6 separate regions of the Homo sapiens genome follow, and all the other regions are linked to region 1. The links are contacts of gene promoters, found by promoter capture Hi-C in blood cells and fetal thymus (Javierre and others, 2016). All regions are on one chromosome and are shown on one strand. Each heading gives the region's core, a stretch centred on a gene start or on the middle of the fragment in contact. The rest is flanking DNA. Distances are from core to core; before and after follow the strand shown. Region 1 holds the start of SLC1A3-AS1 (SLC1A3 antisense RNA 1). Region 2 has its middle 3.5 kb from the start of NUP155. Region 3 overlaps NUP155 (nucleoporin 155). Region 4 overlaps NUP155 (nucleoporin 155). Region 5 overlaps SKP2 (S-phase kinase associated protein 2). Region 6 holds the start of CPLANE1-AS1 (CPLANE1 antisense RNA 1).

What was found. Contacts are between HindIII fragments. The CHiCAGO score rates a contact against its expected background, and 5 or more counts as called.
Region 2: a fragment that was not itself captured here is called in contact with the fragment with the promoter of SLC1A3-AS1 in region 1 in 3 of 17 cell types (erythroblasts, naive B cells and total B cells); the score reaches 7.9 in erythroblasts.
Region 3: a fragment that was not itself captured here is called in contact with the fragment with the promoter of SLC1A3-AS1 in region 1 in 1 of 17 cell types (neutrophils); the score reaches 5.2 in neutrophils.
Region 4: a fragment that was not itself captured here is called in contact with the fragment with the promoter of SLC1A3-AS1 in region 1 in 3 of 17 cell types (erythroblasts, fetal thymus and megakaryocytes); the score reaches 7.8 in erythroblasts.
Region 5: a fragment that was not itself captured here is called in contact with the fragment with the promoter of SLC1A3-AS1 in region 1 in 1 of 17 cell types (neutrophils); the score reaches 5.8 in neutrophils.
Region 6: the fragment with the promoter of CPLANE1-AS1 here is called in contact with the fragment with the promoter of SLC1A3-AS1 in region 1 in 7 of 17 cell types (activated CD4 T cells, fetal thymus, erythroblasts and 4 more); the score reaches 7.9 in activated CD4 T cells.

Annotation. Positions count from the first base shown.
Region 1 is chr5:36,723,742-36,726,511 of GRCh38, reverse strand. It overlaps SLC1A3-AS1 (SLC1A3 antisense RNA 1), which reads left to right and starts at 1,324. Exons shown (of 2, transcript XR_007058736.1): 1 at 1,324-1,398. RefSeq lists enhancers at 2,327-2,596, 2,637-2,686, 2,697-2,746. The HindIII fragment of the contact is 5,384 bases long and covers 1-1,940 here.
Region 2 is chr5:37,373,192-37,375,961 of GRCh38, reverse strand. No RefSeq gene overlaps it. Among named protein-coding and RNA genes, the nearest start is that of NUP155, 3.5 kb to the right of the region's middle. The HindIII fragment of the contact is 2,807 bases long and covers 23-2,770 here.
Region 3 is chr5:37,355,726-37,358,495 of GRCh38, reverse strand. It overlaps NUP155 (nucleoporin 155), which reads left to right. Exons shown (of 35, transcript NM_153485.3): 4 at 345-415. Among named protein-coding and RNA genes, the nearest start is that of NUP155, 14 kb to the left of the region's middle. The HindIII fragment of the contact is 8,560 bases long and covers 1-2,770 here.
Region 4 is chr5:37,309,325-37,312,094 of GRCh38, reverse strand. NUP155 (nucleoporin 155) reads left to right here. Exons shown (of 35, transcript NM_153485.3): 23 at 1,352-1,543. Among named protein-coding and RNA genes, the nearest start is that of NUP155, 60 kb to the left of the region's middle. The HindIII fragment of the contact is 616 bases long and covers 1,116-1,731 here.
Region 5 is chr5:36,160,266-36,163,035 of GRCh38, reverse strand. All of the region lies in intron 2 of SKP2 (S-phase kinase associated protein 2), which reads right to left. Among named protein-coding and RNA genes, the nearest start is that of SKP2, 9.5 kb to the right of the region's middle. The HindIII fragment of the contact is 2,530 bases long and covers 179-2,708 here.
Region 6 is chr5:37,247,707-37,250,476 of GRCh38, reverse strand. It overlaps CPLANE1-AS1 (CPLANE1 antisense RNA 1), which reads right to left and starts at 1,431. Exons shown (of 2, transcript NR_134263.1): 1 at 1,256-1,431; 2 at 1-80. It overlaps CPLANE1 (ciliogenesis and planar polarity effector complex subunit 1), which reads left to right and starts at 1,101. Exons shown (of 53, transcript NM_001384732.1): 1 at 1,101-1,232; 2 at 2,732-2,770. RefSeq lists silencers at 781-1,260, 1,461-1,600. The HindIII fragment of the contact is 6,498 bases long and covers 1-2,770 here.

The DNA.
Region 1 (2,770 bases), core at 75-2,574:
CATCCTTTGGTCATGGAGTGCTGCTCAGATATGTACTATAGAAACCATTCTGAAGCATTTCAAAAGACATCCAGTTTCTCCTCTGTATACTGCAAAATCTTGGGCTTAGGTTCTGGCATTTAGTCTATGACAAATGATTGCTGGCAAAAGTTGAATGAAGCAGTTAAGAGTATGGGTTTGCAGTAAGATCCAGGTTCAAATTTACACCTTTCCATGTACTACCTGTGTGACTTTGGTGAAATTATCTTCTCCAGGCCTTAGGGTGAAATGTATGTGAGAATGCATGAAGCCTGCCACGTGGTTAATATTAAGAGTGATAACTCATATTATCATTGATGGAGGTGAATGAAAGAAATGGAGTAACACGCTTTTAAAACACAGTTTCCCCTCCATTATCATTTCAACCACTTTAGATGAAAATATTGAGGGATACATCCACAATTTCTAGTTAATTAAAAAATATCAGGAGGTCTTAGTAGATTCTAGATTTTTCCTTCAATGAAATGAGTTGTTAAATAAAAGGCCTCCATAAGTACAGGGTCTTGTCGTTGGGCTCTATCTTATGAGCGGTGGATCTGCCTCCCAGGAAGGTAGGCAGACACCAGTGAGGCATCTGGTGCTTGGGATGCAGCGAGTGGAGCCAAGCAGAGAATGATCAGATCCGTTTGCCTGGAATTTCTGCATTTGCTGCCCCAAACATCTGGAGCCAGGCTACCCAGTGCAGATGGAAAATAGCAAAATGCAAATTCCCTGGGTTCAGCTGAGGGAAGCCAAGGCAGACAGAGTCTGAGAAGGCGGATGAAAGGTGAGCCAAAACAAAAGCCCTGGCGGGTGGTGGGGCAGCGTTTTATCTAGAGCCTACGGCCCCCGGTAAGGACAGGAGATGAGAGAAGGGACCTTAGAGCTACTTGGGCCACCTTCATGTTCGTACTCATCCCCCTCCTTAACAGCCTGAAAGGGAGCCTGCTGGGCTTACGGCAGCCTCCCTGTCCTCTTCCTGATGCCATGCCTGCTCCATTGCTTTGCTTCTTCTGGATCCTGTTTCGCCCTCTCCCTCAAGAAGGAGATCCTGAAATAGATCCTGAGTCAATGACTCAGGTGCAAGTGCTTTATTAAAGAAAGGCTCCCAGAAGAAATCTACTTGCACCCGAATCATTGACTCAGGATCTCCTTCTGGGAGAATCCAAGCCAAGACAAGACAGACAACCCAACCAACTGAGCTGCTCACAGCTTCAACTGCTACAACCCTGGAAAGGATTCTGATTGGCTAGCTAAGGGTCACATGCCCAAATGGGCCTTTGATTGGCAGCTGTTGCTTCCTTCCTACTCCCTCCCACACACCCAGGAGCTCCAGCCTGTTATGGGATGGGCATCCTACCAGGAACCAAGGATGCTAAGGTAAGCAGTCCTTGCCCTCATAGGTTTACTTATACTTAAGGGGAGAGAACCGTTAGTCAAATCACCCCACATACAGATCTTTACACACTATGAAGGACAAGCACAGGGTGCAGTCAGTGGGAGGGGCCCAGAACGGGAAGTGCCATGCTGGCTGCTGCTGTGTGGAATGGGCTGTAAAGAGAGCAAGAGTGAAAGCCACAGCAGGGGAGCTGGTCAGAGATGGCAGTGGCTTTATTAGAGTGGTGGCCCTGGAGTTGGAGACAGGTGGGAAAAACTCAAGAGCCCTCTAAGGAACCGACCCATGGCAGTCCATCGCCACCAAGTCCCTCTTACCACTCTAGGTTTAAAGAAACCCAAAAAACAAAACTACGTTGCAACTGCACTGCTACACCAGGAAACCTAAGGGGGAACAAAAGAAAACTTAGTAGTGCCCTCTAGGCTGAAGATTTGACCTATTATTTACTAACCTTTCCCTCCCTCTTCCTTATTTTCAACAAATCTCCTGCCATCCATTTTGAATTCTTCTCTAAATAGAGAAAGCTTTCTTTCTCAGCTTCATTTAAATGTCCACCATGGTATTTACCCATGTTTTCTTGATTTTTATTTCTTTTTGGGGCGGGTATCTAAAAGATAATCTGATCCCTGTTCCTGATTCTGTAGGTGACAGAGAGAAGTGGTTTTCTCATTTTTTTGTGTGTGAAATTATTCGCATATGAGGAAAAGATAGCTCAAAAATAGAAGCTCTTTCATTATCTCTCCACAATGTAGTGTGGCCCCAAGTGACTATTTTGTGGAGACACGGTAATTTGGGGTGGCTAAATCATTACCCCGAGGTGTGTCAGATGCTGCCAAGACCTCCTTCATTCATGTGGCCAAGACTGTGGGCTTCCTGGCTGGGGAGGCAGAGGCCCTGCTCTTCTGCTGCTAACCTTGGGGTCAGCGAGCCCTGATCCACACTTCCTCTGGGCAACATCAATGGGGCTGCTGAACATATTGAGCCAGACTTGTTTCCAAGAGATAGAAGGAACTAGAGCATTGGGGAAAGTCCCAAGTAACTCTAGCCCTCAGCCACCTGCTGTGGCTGAAGATGAAGTCTCTGCAGCTTCAAGAATCCAACTGGCTGGTGCACATTGTTCTCATTGGCTAGATCATTCCTCCATGTAGCACTTCACTAAACTCATTAACAAATATTTACAAATGACATTGCTTTTTGGGGTCATGTATATTTCAGTCTTCAGAATCCATCAGGCACTCAAATCCCTTGGCAGTTCTAGTTCTCTCCCCTAGACATGCCTCTGCCCCCTACTACTCAGTTCCTTTTATTTCTACCATTCGTTTTTATTTTCTATTTCATTTCTTTACTTTTTAGAGA
Region 2 (2,770 bases), core at 177-2,676, 650 kb before region 1:
AGCCATTCTGGGCTGACAAGCTTGTCCTCAAATTTGTGCATGCTTGCTTTAAACCCACCAATTAAAGTGTGGGAATTCCTCTTGGGAAATCTATTTGGAAAACACCATGAACCCAATAAATGCATTGGCTCATGAGTCCCTCTTTGTCTTTCCCTGACTGCATTCCTTGACCTCCAGGTGCGCCAGATGCCCCGCCAGGCATGTAAGTAATAAAATCTTTGTTTATATCTGTGTTTCTACTAATCATTGAAGAAGCATGCTCTATCTTAAAATTCCTAAATTAAAACAGTCCCTTAAAATAAATCAAGGCAGTAGGATTCAAAATGTTGTAGTAGTCACTGTATTTTTCAGTTACATAGGCGTTGTAAGCAAAATCAGTTTCCCTTAGGAATATCCTTAATAAAGCCATAAACAGTATTCATTTCGTTAAACCCTGACCCTTAATTATACGTCTTTTTAACCTTCAGTATGACAAAATGAGAAGTAATCATAAAGTATGTTTTTAAAAAAATTTCTTACAGATGGGGTCTCACTGTGTTACCCAGACTGGAGTGCAGTGGCTATTTACAAGTTCAGTCATGAAGCACTTTAGCCTCAAACTCCTGGACTCAAGCGATCTTCCCCTGCCTCAGCTTCCTGAGTAGATGGGACCACAGGCATACGCCACCATGCCCAGCTAATGCATATCTAAGTAGAATGGTCATCGAAAAGAAAACCACTTGTAATTGAGTGGTTAGCTTTTTTCATGGAACATTATTTTTACCTGAAAGAATGACTCACAAAGTACAGTTGTTCATATTTAAGTATTTGGCAAACATTTTTTCAAAAATAAATGAAATGAGTTTATCACTTTAAGAAAAACAGGTCAGGCATGGTGGCTTACACGGGTAATCCCAGCACTTTGGAAGCCGAGGTGGGAGGATCACCCAAGGCCAGGAGTTCGAGACCAGCCTGGCCAACATGGTGAAACCCCGTCTCTACTAAAAATACAGAAAATTAGCCAGGCGTAGCTGGGTGCGGTGGCTCACGTCTGTAATCCCAGCGCTTTGGGAGGCCAAGGCGGGTGGATCACCTGAGGTCAGGAGTTCAAGACCAGCCTGACCAACATAGTAAAACCCCCGTCTCTACTAAAAATACAAAAAAATGAGCTGGGCATGGTGGTATGTGCCTGTAATCCCAGCTACTCGGAAGGCTGAGGCAGAATTGCTTGAACCTGAGAGGCAGAGGTTGCAGTGAACAGAGATCATGCCACTGCACTCCAACCTGGGCAACAAGAGCAAAACTCCATCTCAAAAAAAAAAAATAAAGAAAAGAAAATTAGCCTGTAATTCCAGCTACTCAGGAGGCTGAAGCAGGAGGATTGCTTGAACCTGGGAGGCAGAGGTTGCAATGAGCTGAGATCGCACCATTGCACCCCAGCCTAGGCGACAAGAGCAAAACTCTGTTTAAAAAAAAAAAAAAACTGACTGCACTTGTTGACAATTATTAAAATACTTCTTCTTTTTCTAAATATGTAACTGAGGCCAGTTTTTCCTTCTTTCTTTCTTTCTTTTTTTTTGAGACAGAGTTTCGCTCTTGTAGCCCAGGCTGGAGTGCAATGGCACGATCTCAGCTCACTGCAACCTCCGCCTCCCAGGTTCGGGCAATTCCCCTGGCTTAGCCTCCCAAGTAGCCGGGATTACAGGCTTGCGCCACCATGCCCCACTGATTTTTGTATTTTTAGTAGAAACGGGGTTTCACCATGTTGGCCAGGCTAGTCTCGAACCTCTGACCTCAGGCAATCCACCCGCCTCGGCCTCCCAAAGTGCTGGGATTACAGGTGTGAGCCAGCGCGCCTGGTGAGGCCAGCTTTTCTTAATATTAATATATTATACTTCAACTAAATAAGTCACAAAATGTTGACATGTTAGACAAAGTAGCAAACATAAAAAACCAAGTTTGCTCATTCTGCTTGCCAGCAGAATTTCACAAAGCCCAACTCAGTGACTAAGTATAGACTTCTAGAAGAATGCCCTGGAAACAATAAGCAGGTTAGAGCACAGGTTCCCACGTCTCTTGCTTCAATCAATGCATTTTTTAAAAAAAGGTAAGTTCAGTGTTCCTACCCCTTGCCTCTTCCAGTACATAAGATAGTGTCCCATAGGATTCATGATTATGCCTCTGTAATCTATAACCAGATGTACTCTTACACCCAAACTTTGATGAGATTTTGCTCTAATGTAATTTATGAGCTTTTTTTTTTTTTTTTTTTTTTTTTTTTAGAGACAGAGTCTCCCTTTATCAACCAGACTAGAATGCAGTGGCATGGTCATGGCTCACTGCAACCTGGAACTCCTGGGCTAAAGTGATGCTCCTGCCTCAGCCCACCAAGTAGCTGGGACTACAGGTCCACACCTGGCTGCCCAGGTTGGTTTTGAATGCCTGGCCTCAAGAGACCCTCATGCATAGGCCTCTCAAAGTGCTAGAATTACAGGTGTGAGTCACTATACCCAGTTTATGAGCATGTTTAATGTAATTTCTGAGCACATGCAGAGCTTCCAACCCCTGACATGTAAGCTGTGGGCTAAAAGCTACTTTGGAGCAGTCTTAACAGAAACTCTCTGAAAGGTTGCAATCCTGAGTCTGAATCAAACTGACTTTAATTCTTTAAAAGAGGGTTATTTTTCTTCAATTGACAGCAGATACAGATATGAGAATCCAGCCATCCGTTACTGAGCCAGACACTAAAGAGATTTGCAAAAATATGAAATAATCGCATTCTTCTCCCTGT
Region 3 (2,770 bases), core at 79-2,578, 630 kb before region 1:
ATACTTGGTTTTCTGTTTTTCTTTTCTTTTCTTTTTTGAGACAGGCTCTCACTTTGTCACCCAGGCTGGAGTGCAGTGGCATGATCACTACTCACTGCAGCCTCAACCTCCCAGGCCTTTGCGATCCTGCCAACTCAGTGGCCTCACACCCCCATGCCTGGCTAATTTTTTGTTTCTTTTTTGTAGAGACAGTCTCACTATGTTGCCCAGGCTGGTCTTGAACTTCTGGGCTCAGGCAGTCCTCCTGCCTCAGACTCCCAAAGTACTGGGATTAAAGACATGAGCCACCACATCTGGCCTATTTGCTTTATATGTGTAACATGTTTTTCTTCATTTATTCACAGAGGAGACCTTGCCTATTTTGATGGACTTAGTGAGACTATTCTTGCTGTGGGGCTTGTGAAGCCAAAAGCAGGTAAGAAATAAAACTATAAGGAAGAGATTATGTTTGTATATGTAAACTCCAAATGGTATAGACCTGAACAACAACACACATTTTTTTCGAGATGGAGTCTCGTTCCATCGAGTAGGCTGGAGTGCAGTGGCGCAATCTTGGCTCACTGCAATCTCCGCCTCCTGGGTTCAAGCAGTTCTCCTGCCTCAGCCTCCCGAATAGCTGGGATTACGGGCGTGCGCCACCACACCCAGCTAATTTTTGTATTTTTAGTAGAGACGGGGCTCCGCCATGTTGGCCAGGCTGGTCTCAACTCCTGACCTCAGGTGATCCGCCCGCCTCAGCCTCCCAAAGTGCTGGGATTACAGATGTAAGCCACCGCGCCTGGCTGACAACACCCTTTTTTAAACAATTGTATTCTCCATTGAAGTTTTATTTTGAATTCTAATTAGAAATATGTAAAGTGATTATTAATGTTTAACTGTTTACTTTAATGGTATAAGTGACACTGCCTTTAAAAATGTTAAACTGTAATTTTTTGAATTTTATTTTATTTGCTTTTTACTGCTCTTTCTTGATATACCTGAAGGTTTTGCACTATAGATTTTTCATTAATTGCTGAATTTAATGTTAAGAAAAATTTTAGTGTCTGCATTTTATTAGTCTGTCTTTCTCTTTTTTTTTTTTTTTTTTTTTTTTTTTGAGATTAAGGTCTTATACTCTATCACCCGGGCTGGAGTGCAGTGGCATGATCATGGCTCACTACAGCCTCAACCTCCCAGGCTCAGGAGACCCTCCCACCTCAGCCTCCCAAGTAGCTGGGACTACAGTTTTGTGCTACCACACCAGGCTAATTTTTGTAGAGATGGGGTTTTGCCATGTTGCCCAGGCTGGTCTTGAACTCCTGTGCTCAAGCAATCCACCCACCTCAGGGATGCTGGGTTAACACTTGTGAGCCACTGCACCTGGCCATTTTTTTAGTCTTTTTCTTTTTTGAGACAGAGTCTCGCTCTGTTGCCCAGGCTGGAGTGCAGTGGCGTGATCTCCGCTCACAGCAGCCTCCGCCTCCCAGGATTGAGCGATTCTCTTGCCTCAGCCTTCCAAGTAGCTGGGATTACAGGCATGTGCCACCATGCCCAGCTAATTTTTATATTTTTAGTAGAGCAGGGTTTTGCCATGTTGGCCAGGCTGGTTTTGAACTGTTGACCTCAGGTGATTTGCCTACCTTGGCCTCCCAATGTGCTGGGATTACAGGCGTGAGCCGCCGTGCCCTGGCCATATTCTTGATGGCCCGTGGAAGTGAGAACAGAGTTTAGAGTAAATCTTAGAAACGTCACAAGCATTGTTTAACTTATTGTTTCACCCTCATAATGCCAAATCTCTTATCAGGGTTACTGAGAAGGAGAATTGATTGATTTAAATTTAAAATATATCCTTTAAATGTACCTTTCTTTTTTTTTCTGTTACAGAGTCTCACTCTGTTGCCCAGGCTAGAGTGCAGTTTAGCCACCTTGGTGCTCACTGCAGTCTCGCCTCCTGAGTTCAAGCGATTCTCCTGCCTCAGCCTCTCAAGTAGCTGGGATTATAAACGCATGTCACCACGCCTAATTTTTATATTTTTAGTAGAGACAGGGTTTCGCCATGTTGGCCATGCTGGTTTCGAACTCCTGACCTCAGGTGATCCTCCCACATCGGTCTCCCAAAGTGCTGGTATTATAGGCATGAGCTGCCATGCCCTGGCCATAATCCTGATAGCCCATGGAAGTGAGAACAGAGTTCAGAGTAAATTAAATCTTGTAGATATCACAAGCATTGTTTGACTTACTCTTTCACCCTCATAATGCCAAATCTCTATTTTTTTTTTTTTTTTTTGAGATGGAATTTTGCTCTTGTTGCCCAGGCTGGAGTGTAATGGCGTGATCTCGGCTCACCGCACCCTCCGCCTCCTGGGTTCAAGCGATTCTCCTGCCTCAGCCTCCCAAGTAGCTGGGATTACAGGCATGCACCACCACGCTTGGCTAATTTTATATTTTTAGTAGAGATGGGAATTCTCCATGTTGGTCGGGCTGGTCTTGAACTCCCGACCTCAGGTGATCCGCCCACCTCGGCCTCCCAAAGTGTTTGGGATTACAGACGTGAGCCACCATGCCCAGCATAATGCCAAATCTCTTATCAGAGTTACTAGGAAGGAGAATTGATTGATTTAAATTTAAAATATATTCTTGGCTGGACATGGTGGCTTGAGCCTGTAATCCCAGCACTTTGGGAGGCCAAGGTGGGTGGATCATGAGGTCAGGAGATCGAGACCATCCTGACTAACACAGTGAAACCCCATCTGTACTAAAAATACAAAAAATTAGCTGGGCTTGGTGGTGG
Region 4 (2,770 bases), core at 174-2,673, 590 kb before region 1:
GGAATTTATTATTTCATTTAGGATTACAAAAGGGTAATATTTATTTATTTGTTTGTTTGTTTTTTATTTTTTTTGAGACAGTGTCTCATTCTGTCACCCAGGCTGGAGTGCTGTGGAGCAATCTGAGATCACTGTAACCTCCACCTCCCGGGTACAAGCAGTTCTCCTGCCTCAGCTTCCCGAGTAGCTGGGACTACAGGCATGTGCCACAACGCCTGGCTGATTTTTGTAGTTTTAGTAAGAGACCGGGTTTCGCCATGTTGGCCAGGCTGGTGTTGAACTCCTGACGTCAGGTGATCTACCTGCCTTGGCCTCCCAAAGTGCTGGGATTACAGGCATGAGCCACCATGCCCGGCCAAAAGGATAATATTTTAAATCTGTGATTCCTTCCCCAGTTACTAGCTGCAATTCTGTAAAAAAAAAAAAAAAAATTCTTTTTCCTTGTCCTGTATGGATATTTCATTACTCTGAAACACTTACTTTTTGACTCTCGTATACCATTTTTCAACGTTGGAAGGCAGTCTCCTCATTCTTTCCACTAGTGTCCAATGAATAGTGTGGCTTTTGTTGGTGGTTTTGTTTCTTTTAAATACATACTGTTTTTTATTTTTAAAAATTCAAGCTAATATATTTAATTATGAAACTTATCTTTTTCATACCAAGTAGAATAATAATTTTGAGTTTTATAGAGTGATAAATATATTGTAGGTAGGTTTTTATCCTGGGTATGTTTTTGTGATCCATCTTCAAAGCTCTCTTCCTTACATCACCAATGGCATGCTCAATGAATGCAAATTAAAGATTTGTTCAAGAATTTTAACACAGTTTGGGTATTTCCTTGAATTTAGAAAAAAGAGATAGCAGTCACATCACTAACAGAATCTTTTACTATAGTATAAATCAATACTTTAGAGCTTCATTTGGACAAGCAGATTTGTTCACAATACAGATTAAACTCCAATATTATTATAAGGCCTAGAATAATGGAATTCTAACAGTGTTTAGGAAGGAGTAATATGTAAGCCCAAGATTTTCAAATATAGCCAAGTGATTGTTTTTTCCATTTTATAACCAAAGCCAGGAGATCTGACTCTAGTTTTGGCTCTACTTAAGCTTTACTTTTCTCATTTGGAAAGTGAGAGTTTTGGACTAGATCTACTGTAGGTTCTTTTCCAACTCTCTATGATTTTATGTAAGTTCGCAAAAATTTGTTTCTACTAATTAGTATATTTTCGCTTTTCAATTATAGAGTCTATTAATATTTAGGTTATTTTAATTTATTAAAATAATTTCATTATGTTTAGAAATATGGTATTTCTATAATTGTGATAGAAAAGTTTTATGCTCCTAGGAACTTCAAGAGCAGCTGAAGATCACCACCTTTAAAGATCTTGTAATCAGGGACAAAGAACTCACAGGGGCATTAATTGCTTCTCTTATCAACTGCTACATCAGAGATAATGCCGCTGTTGATGGCATTAGTTTACATTTACAGGATATCTGCCCACTTCTATATAGCACTGATGATGCAATTTGTTCTAAGGTATGATACTTTATTACCTATTTCATTGTTTGTTATAAGAGGTATCATGTATGATGAACCATCTTGTTTCACTTAATATAGGACCTCAGTCAGTTAGATCTCTTAACCTCTCCTAGCCTCAGAATCCTCATCTAAGAAAGGGGTTGGAATATGTGGCTTCTTAAAACCAGTGTATACTCTTTTAAGCTTAGCTTTTCTTTTTAAAAATATTTTTATTTATTTATTTGACACAGGGTTTCACTCTGTTGCTTAGGCTGTAGTGCAGTGCTGTGATCATAGCTCACAGCAGCTTCTAAGTCCTAGACTCAAGCAGGCCTCTCATGTAGCTAGGGGCTACGGGTGTGCACCACTACACCCAGCCAATTTTTTTGTTTTTTATAGAGACAAGTTCTGATTTGTTGCACAGGCTGGTCTTGAACTCTTGGCTTCAAGTGATCCTCCTGCCTCAGCCTCCCATAGTGCTGGGATTATAAGTGTGAGCCACCATGCCCAGCCCTCCTTTAAGTTTTTCATAAAGAATATTCTCTCTTTTTTTTTAAGACTGAGTACGATCTCAGCTCACTGCAACCTCCACCTCCCAGGTTCAAGTGATTCTCCTGCCTCGGCCTCCCAAATAGCTGGGATTACAGGTGTGCACCATCACACCTGGCTAATTTTTTATATTTTTGGTAGAGACAGGATTTCACCATGTTGTCTAGGCTGGTTTTGAACTCCTGACCTCCGCCTGCCTCAGCCTTGCAAAGTGTTGGGATTATAGACATGAGCCTCTGCGCCTGGCCCATAAAGAATCTTTGATAGTGTTTCTAGGCCATATTAAAAAACCAAAGGTGAGAAATTAAGAAAAATCACTAAATTTAGAAATTAAGGAAATTTAGGGGATAATTTATCTCCTTAGCTTAAGGAAAAGTACTAAAACTTCAAGTAAATCTTTTAGTGAATTAGAGTTAATGGGGGCATTTTTATTGATCCTTTCCTACAGGTGGAAAAAATAAATAAATCAGTGTCACATGGACTGCCTGCTGCCCAATAATGTATTGACTAGGCAAGAGAATTACCAGACAAAAGTTCTCTTGCTTAACATATTTGGGAGAGGAATTAAGAATAGCTAGGAATCTTTGGTCAAAAACTTTTCTGCCTAAAATTAAGAAGTAAGTTTGTAGAGTTGTTTTCATTTTAATGGTAATAACCATATATAAATTTAGACATAGACTAAAACTTAGTTGACAG
Region 5 (2,770 bases), core at 194-2,693, 560 kb after region 1:
TAATCAAATCATGGGGACGGTTACCTGGTGATAACCGCCCCTGTAATTTGATGCTGTTCTGGTGATAAGTGAGTTCCCACAAGATCTTATGGTTTTACAAGTGGCTTCCCCGACCCCTTTGCTCTGCACTTGATGCCGCCATGTGGAGAAGGACGTTTGCTTCCCCTTCCACCAAGCTTGTACGTTTCCTGAGGCCTCCCCAGCCAGGCTGAACTGTGAGTCAATTAAACCTCTTTCCTTTATGAATTACCCAGTCTTGGGTATGTCTTTATTAACAACATGAGAACAGACTAATATGCTTTCTTTCAGGTTTACAAAAGGCACAGTTTACCTAAAAGAGCAATACAAAAGGGTATTGTCATTTCTTAATTCAACAAATATTTACTGAGCTCCTACTATGGTGCCAGGTATCATTTTAGGTGTTGGGAAGGAGTAGTAAATCAGACCCAAAACACTACCTTCGTGGGACTTCATTCCAGTAATGCGGAACAGATAATCACACATCAAAAAATAAGTACATTATATGATATAGTAAAATTGATCTGTGCTGTGCAGAAAAATTAAACAGGGCAAGGGAGAGAACAGAGAGTTCAGAGCAGATGTTATTAAGTTTGAACATGGTGGTCAGGGAAGGCCATACTGAGATGACGATCACTAAGCAAAGGCTTGAACAAAGTGAGGGAGTGAGCCCTGTGAGTATCTGGTGTACGTGTTCTAGATCCAAGGAACAGCATGTGTGTTTGAGGCATAGCAAGGAGGCCAGTGTAGAGCGCAGAGGTAGGTGGGTAGAAAAATCAGAGAGCAGCCAGGTCATGCAGGCTTCCTAGGTCATGATAAAGCCTTTGGCTTTGACGCTGAATTCTATGAGGCACCACTAGAAGATTCTGAGCACAGGAATGACAGGCCCTCACGTAAGTTCAAAAAGGATCACTCTGGCTGCTGTGTTTAGAACAGAAAGGTGGATGCAGGAAGCGCAGTTTTCTTTCATAGAAGCAATCTCTAAATAACTATTCAACAAGTATGAAACTCTTACATATGAATACATAGAATAATCCCACAAGCTCAGGATAATGTAACAATTGCCAAGAAGGAAATAAATGCACAATGAAGGAATCCTAAAAAACAGTCAGATGAGTTCAATGATTGCCTTCCTAGGCTTTCCACCTCTGATGGATCTTCTACACCAATTCTGGTGATATTCTCTCCTCCTACTCCCATTTAAAGGTGCCAGTCTTTACTGAGCATGTCCTTTGTACCAGGCCCTGTATAAGTGGGTTTGAGGACACAAGGGAGAAAAACACCGAGGAGTGTGACAAACACCTGCTGCCCTGGGCAGTCTTTCTAAACCAGCATGTCTTTCCCCCAGTTAGAATCCTTCAGTGGTACACCCCAGGTATTTAGGCTAAAGTCCACAATGCTTAGTACAAAGTTAAACGCTTTCAGCCAGGTCTCAACTAGTTTTCCTAGGTTTGTTATCTAGAAATGTGTTCCAGCCATTTGGAGCTACCTGTAATTCTTAGAATGAGTCATTCTGTGCCGTATCTCAATGCTTTTGCACATCCTGTGCTTGCCTCCAACTACTATTCATTTAAAATCAAATGGAAGCCCCAGTTCCCACAGAAGGCCTCCCGTGACATCAACAAGGACAGGCCACTTATGTACCATAATTTCATTATTTACTTACTCATCTCTCTAGACCCCCAGGAGCTCTTGAGAAACAAAAACGCTTTTTTTTTTTTTTTTAACAATTTTTGTATTTTCAGGAACTAGCATAAAATTGATACATTCATCCACTCCCATATTTATAAAATATGTACTATACACTGAGGTCTATTCTAGGTTTTAAGGACACAATGATAAATAAGGCACAATCCTGACCCTTATTCTGCTCAGAGTTTGAGAGATATAGACAAACAGGAAACTTCAATAACCTATCCTGATGGGCTACAGTAGGATTCGGGGTGCTGTGCAGCTTATGGGAATGGCGCAGGGGTTAGGGAAGCCTTTCTGGAGGAAGTGGCCTCTCTTGAAGAATGAGTAGGAGATACACAGTTGTTCAATGAATGCCTGTTCCCCTAGCCTCACGCCCTTCAGGGGACAAAATTAAAGGACTGACTGAGGCCCTGAAAGCTAGGGGTAGAAAGCTGAAGGCAGATCACCCCTGCTGATCTGGGGAGGCAGCTGGAGGTTGTGAGGAGGCTCCTCGACGTGGCAGCTGTTCCATCACTGCCACAAAGTTCCTCCAAAGTCAACATGGGCAGGGGACAAAGGTTCTCAAACCAGGCTCTTGCCCTGCTCCCCAAATTGAAAACAAAGTTGAATGACAGGCTTTTCTCAAGTTTTTCTCCCATTAATCCAACTCTCTCAGACCTCTGCTGCCTCTTACATATCTAGATCAGAATCTAGTAATTGATTGGGCATAACTATATTTAGCTATAAGTATAGTCATCCACTCACGTATTTATTAACCATGTACTATATACACTGAGGTCTGTTCTAGGTTTTGGGCCACAACAATAAGTAAGGTACAATCCTGACCCTTATTCTACTCTGAGTTTGAGAGATACAGACAAACAATTAAACAGGAAATTTCAATAAACTATCCTGATGGGCTACAGCAGGATTCAGGGTGCTGTGCAGCACATGGGAATGGTGCAGAGGTTAAGGAAGCCTTCCTGGAGGAAGTGGCCTCTATGGAAGAGTAAGCTTAACTATACTTCAATAACATACTTAGCTATTTTGAATCTAATATGTTGAGATTTTACTATAA
Region 6 (2,770 bases), core at 182-2,681, 520 kb before region 1:
AATCACACCAATATTTCTAGGTCTAATGGCCACACAGCAAAATCAGCCTCAGTTATCCCATTGTCTTCATATCTTAAGACCTAAAAATGGGAACACAGGATTGTGGGAATAGGTTAGGATTTCTCAGTTTCCAAATTTTTCTGTGAGACTTTTATGCTAACTCTAGCACGGCTTATGTAAAATGTTCGTGATTTGGGGGTGGATCTAAACCACCTCAGATCTATAACCTCTGAGATAAGTGGGGCTGAGCTGCCAGAATGCCATCCGCCATTTATCCCACCCAGAGACACAGGGGTAATTGTGGTTCTGATGCAGCCAGTTCGCCTACCCTGTAACGCTTATTTGCTAAAATAAACCAACCTAAGAGCTAGCCATCCAATGCAGAGGGCAGGGCCATTTTCGGTGCAGAACATACCTGGCCTAGCCAAGGGTGACAGGGTCCTGCCTTCAAAAACAGGCCAGTCACATGAAAGAGTGAAGATGGGCGCATGTGGAGGAGGACAACAGGCCACTGCCTGAGGCCTTCACATTTAAGCTACACAAAAATGCTTTTCCAGGTGAGCAGAGCTCTCGGGCTGCCTGCTTGTGACCCCTGCTCCTGTCAGTCACGAGAACAGGGCGAAGGAGGCGAAAACAGTGCGGAGAATAAGTCCGTAGGACAGTGAGTTCGGAAAATGCCTTCTTCAGTGTTCCAAGGTGCCCACGTGAACTGAGGAGGGCAGAGCAAAACCCCTTATTTTCGGGTCTGTGCAGGGTCCCCGCTAGGAAGGGGCAGCCCTTGAGTTTCATGTTGGTCGGTTATTAAGCGGCTCCCCCGTGAGCCCCGCCCAATGCCTGTGCGCTCAAACTAGCAGCGTCCGAGGAACGCGTTAACTGGGAGAAGTGAACTGAGGGGGTCCGGCGGCCGCTGAGGAGGGGAGCGCGCGGGAGGAGGGGCGAGGAGCCCGGAGGCGGGCGCGGCTGGCAGCTTAGAGGGCCCGGGCGGAGGCCTGAGAGCAGGGCTGGAGGGGCGGAGGACCGGGGAGACCCGCCCGCGGCGTTCCCGGCCGGTTCTGAGCAGGCGCCGTGGCAGCGCCCGCGCCCCCTGCCCGCCCTCCGCCGTCGCCAGGACGCAGGCTCGCGTCAGGGCTGGCGGTAGGGCCCGCAGCTGTCGGCCTGGCGTCTTCACCCCGCGCAGTCGGCCTCGCCTAGCCTTCTCGCGCCTGACTGGCCGGACCCTGCCCCTGGCGGAGGTAACTGCCCGCGGATTCCTTACCCCGCGATCCTGGCCTCCTCGTAAGCTCCCCGGACCCGGGCGTCCTCGGTCTCCCCTCATCTACTCTTCTGTCGGGCAGGTCCGCGACCTTCCGCCTCCCGGGCCGTCTCCCGCCGCACCCGGCCCTGGTACATCCCCACTACCCAGTCCGGGCCCGTCCTCGCTCTGGGCCTACCCCAGCCTCCCAGCGTCGCCTGCTGACGGAGCGCGGGAGCCCCAAGGGGCCGGGGTCACCCGGCCGGCGTGGGTGGTGCCAGGCTCGGGCCACACCTCGGCACCGGACCCGAGTCCCCCAGCTTCTCGAGCAGGATCCGGAGGAATAGAACGTCAATTTTCCTCGCTCTTAGCAATTTTAAGATTGACTAATGGATTTAGGGTATGTCAGTGCATAAAGTTCCCAGTATTTTTTCACTCAATAATTTTAGCAGCGCTGATACTATTGACTGGATTTGTTATTTCATTAGGAGCTGCAAATGATGCTTTTCTAATGCCGGCGTTTCTCTGGCATTTGGTTAACCCTTTTGTGAGAATTTATTTTATTTGCAATTTTATTTATTTATTTTTGAGCCGGAGTCTTCGCTGCGTTGCCCACGCTGGAGTGCAGTGGCTCTCACAGGCACAATCACAGCTCACTGCAGCCTCGAACTCTCTTGTCCTCAAGCGATCTTCCCATCTCAGCCTCCGTGCTGACTGATAGCTAGCATCTTGATAGATCTTTGTGTGCTGTCTCTGAGTAGTTTTTCTTTTAAAGCTATTTTATTAAAAAAACAAAAAAACAAGCCCATCTAATTTGGCCGGGCACAGTGGATCACGCCTGTAATCCCAGCACTTTGGGAGGCTGAGTCGGGCGGATCACCCAAGGTCAGGGGTTCGAGACCAGCCTGGCCAACATGGTGAAACCCGGTTTCTACTAAAAATACAAAAAAATTAGTCCGGTGTGGTGGTGCATGCCTGTAATCCCAGCTACTCGGGAGGCTGAGGCAAGAGAATCGCTTGAACCCGGGAGGCGGAGGTTGCAGTGAGCCGAGATCGCGCCACTGCACTGCAGCCTGGGCTACAAGAGCAAAACTTCAACTCAGAAATAAAATATAAATCAAAACTTTATGAAAATTGTCAGTTAAGATCTTCAGTGGTCCATGCGCAGTGGATCGTGCCTGTTATCCCAGCACTTTGGGAGGACGAAGTGGATGGATCACTTGAAGTCAGGAGTTTGAGACCAGCCTGGCCAACATGGTGAAACCCCATCTCTACTTAAAATTAGCCAGGCGTGGTGGCACACGCTTGTAGTCCCAGCTACTCGGGAGGCTAACGCAGGAGAATCACTTGAATCCGGGAGGCGGAGGTTGCAGTGAGCTGAGATCATATCACTGCACTCCAGCTGGGGCAACAGAACGAAACTCTTGTCTCAAAAAAAAAAAAAAAATGCCCAGTGAATATTATGCATCATTTATATTTTATTACTATTATTGTTTACAGAATCTTGGGACTGTTTTACTTAATTGGTCATTGATAGCT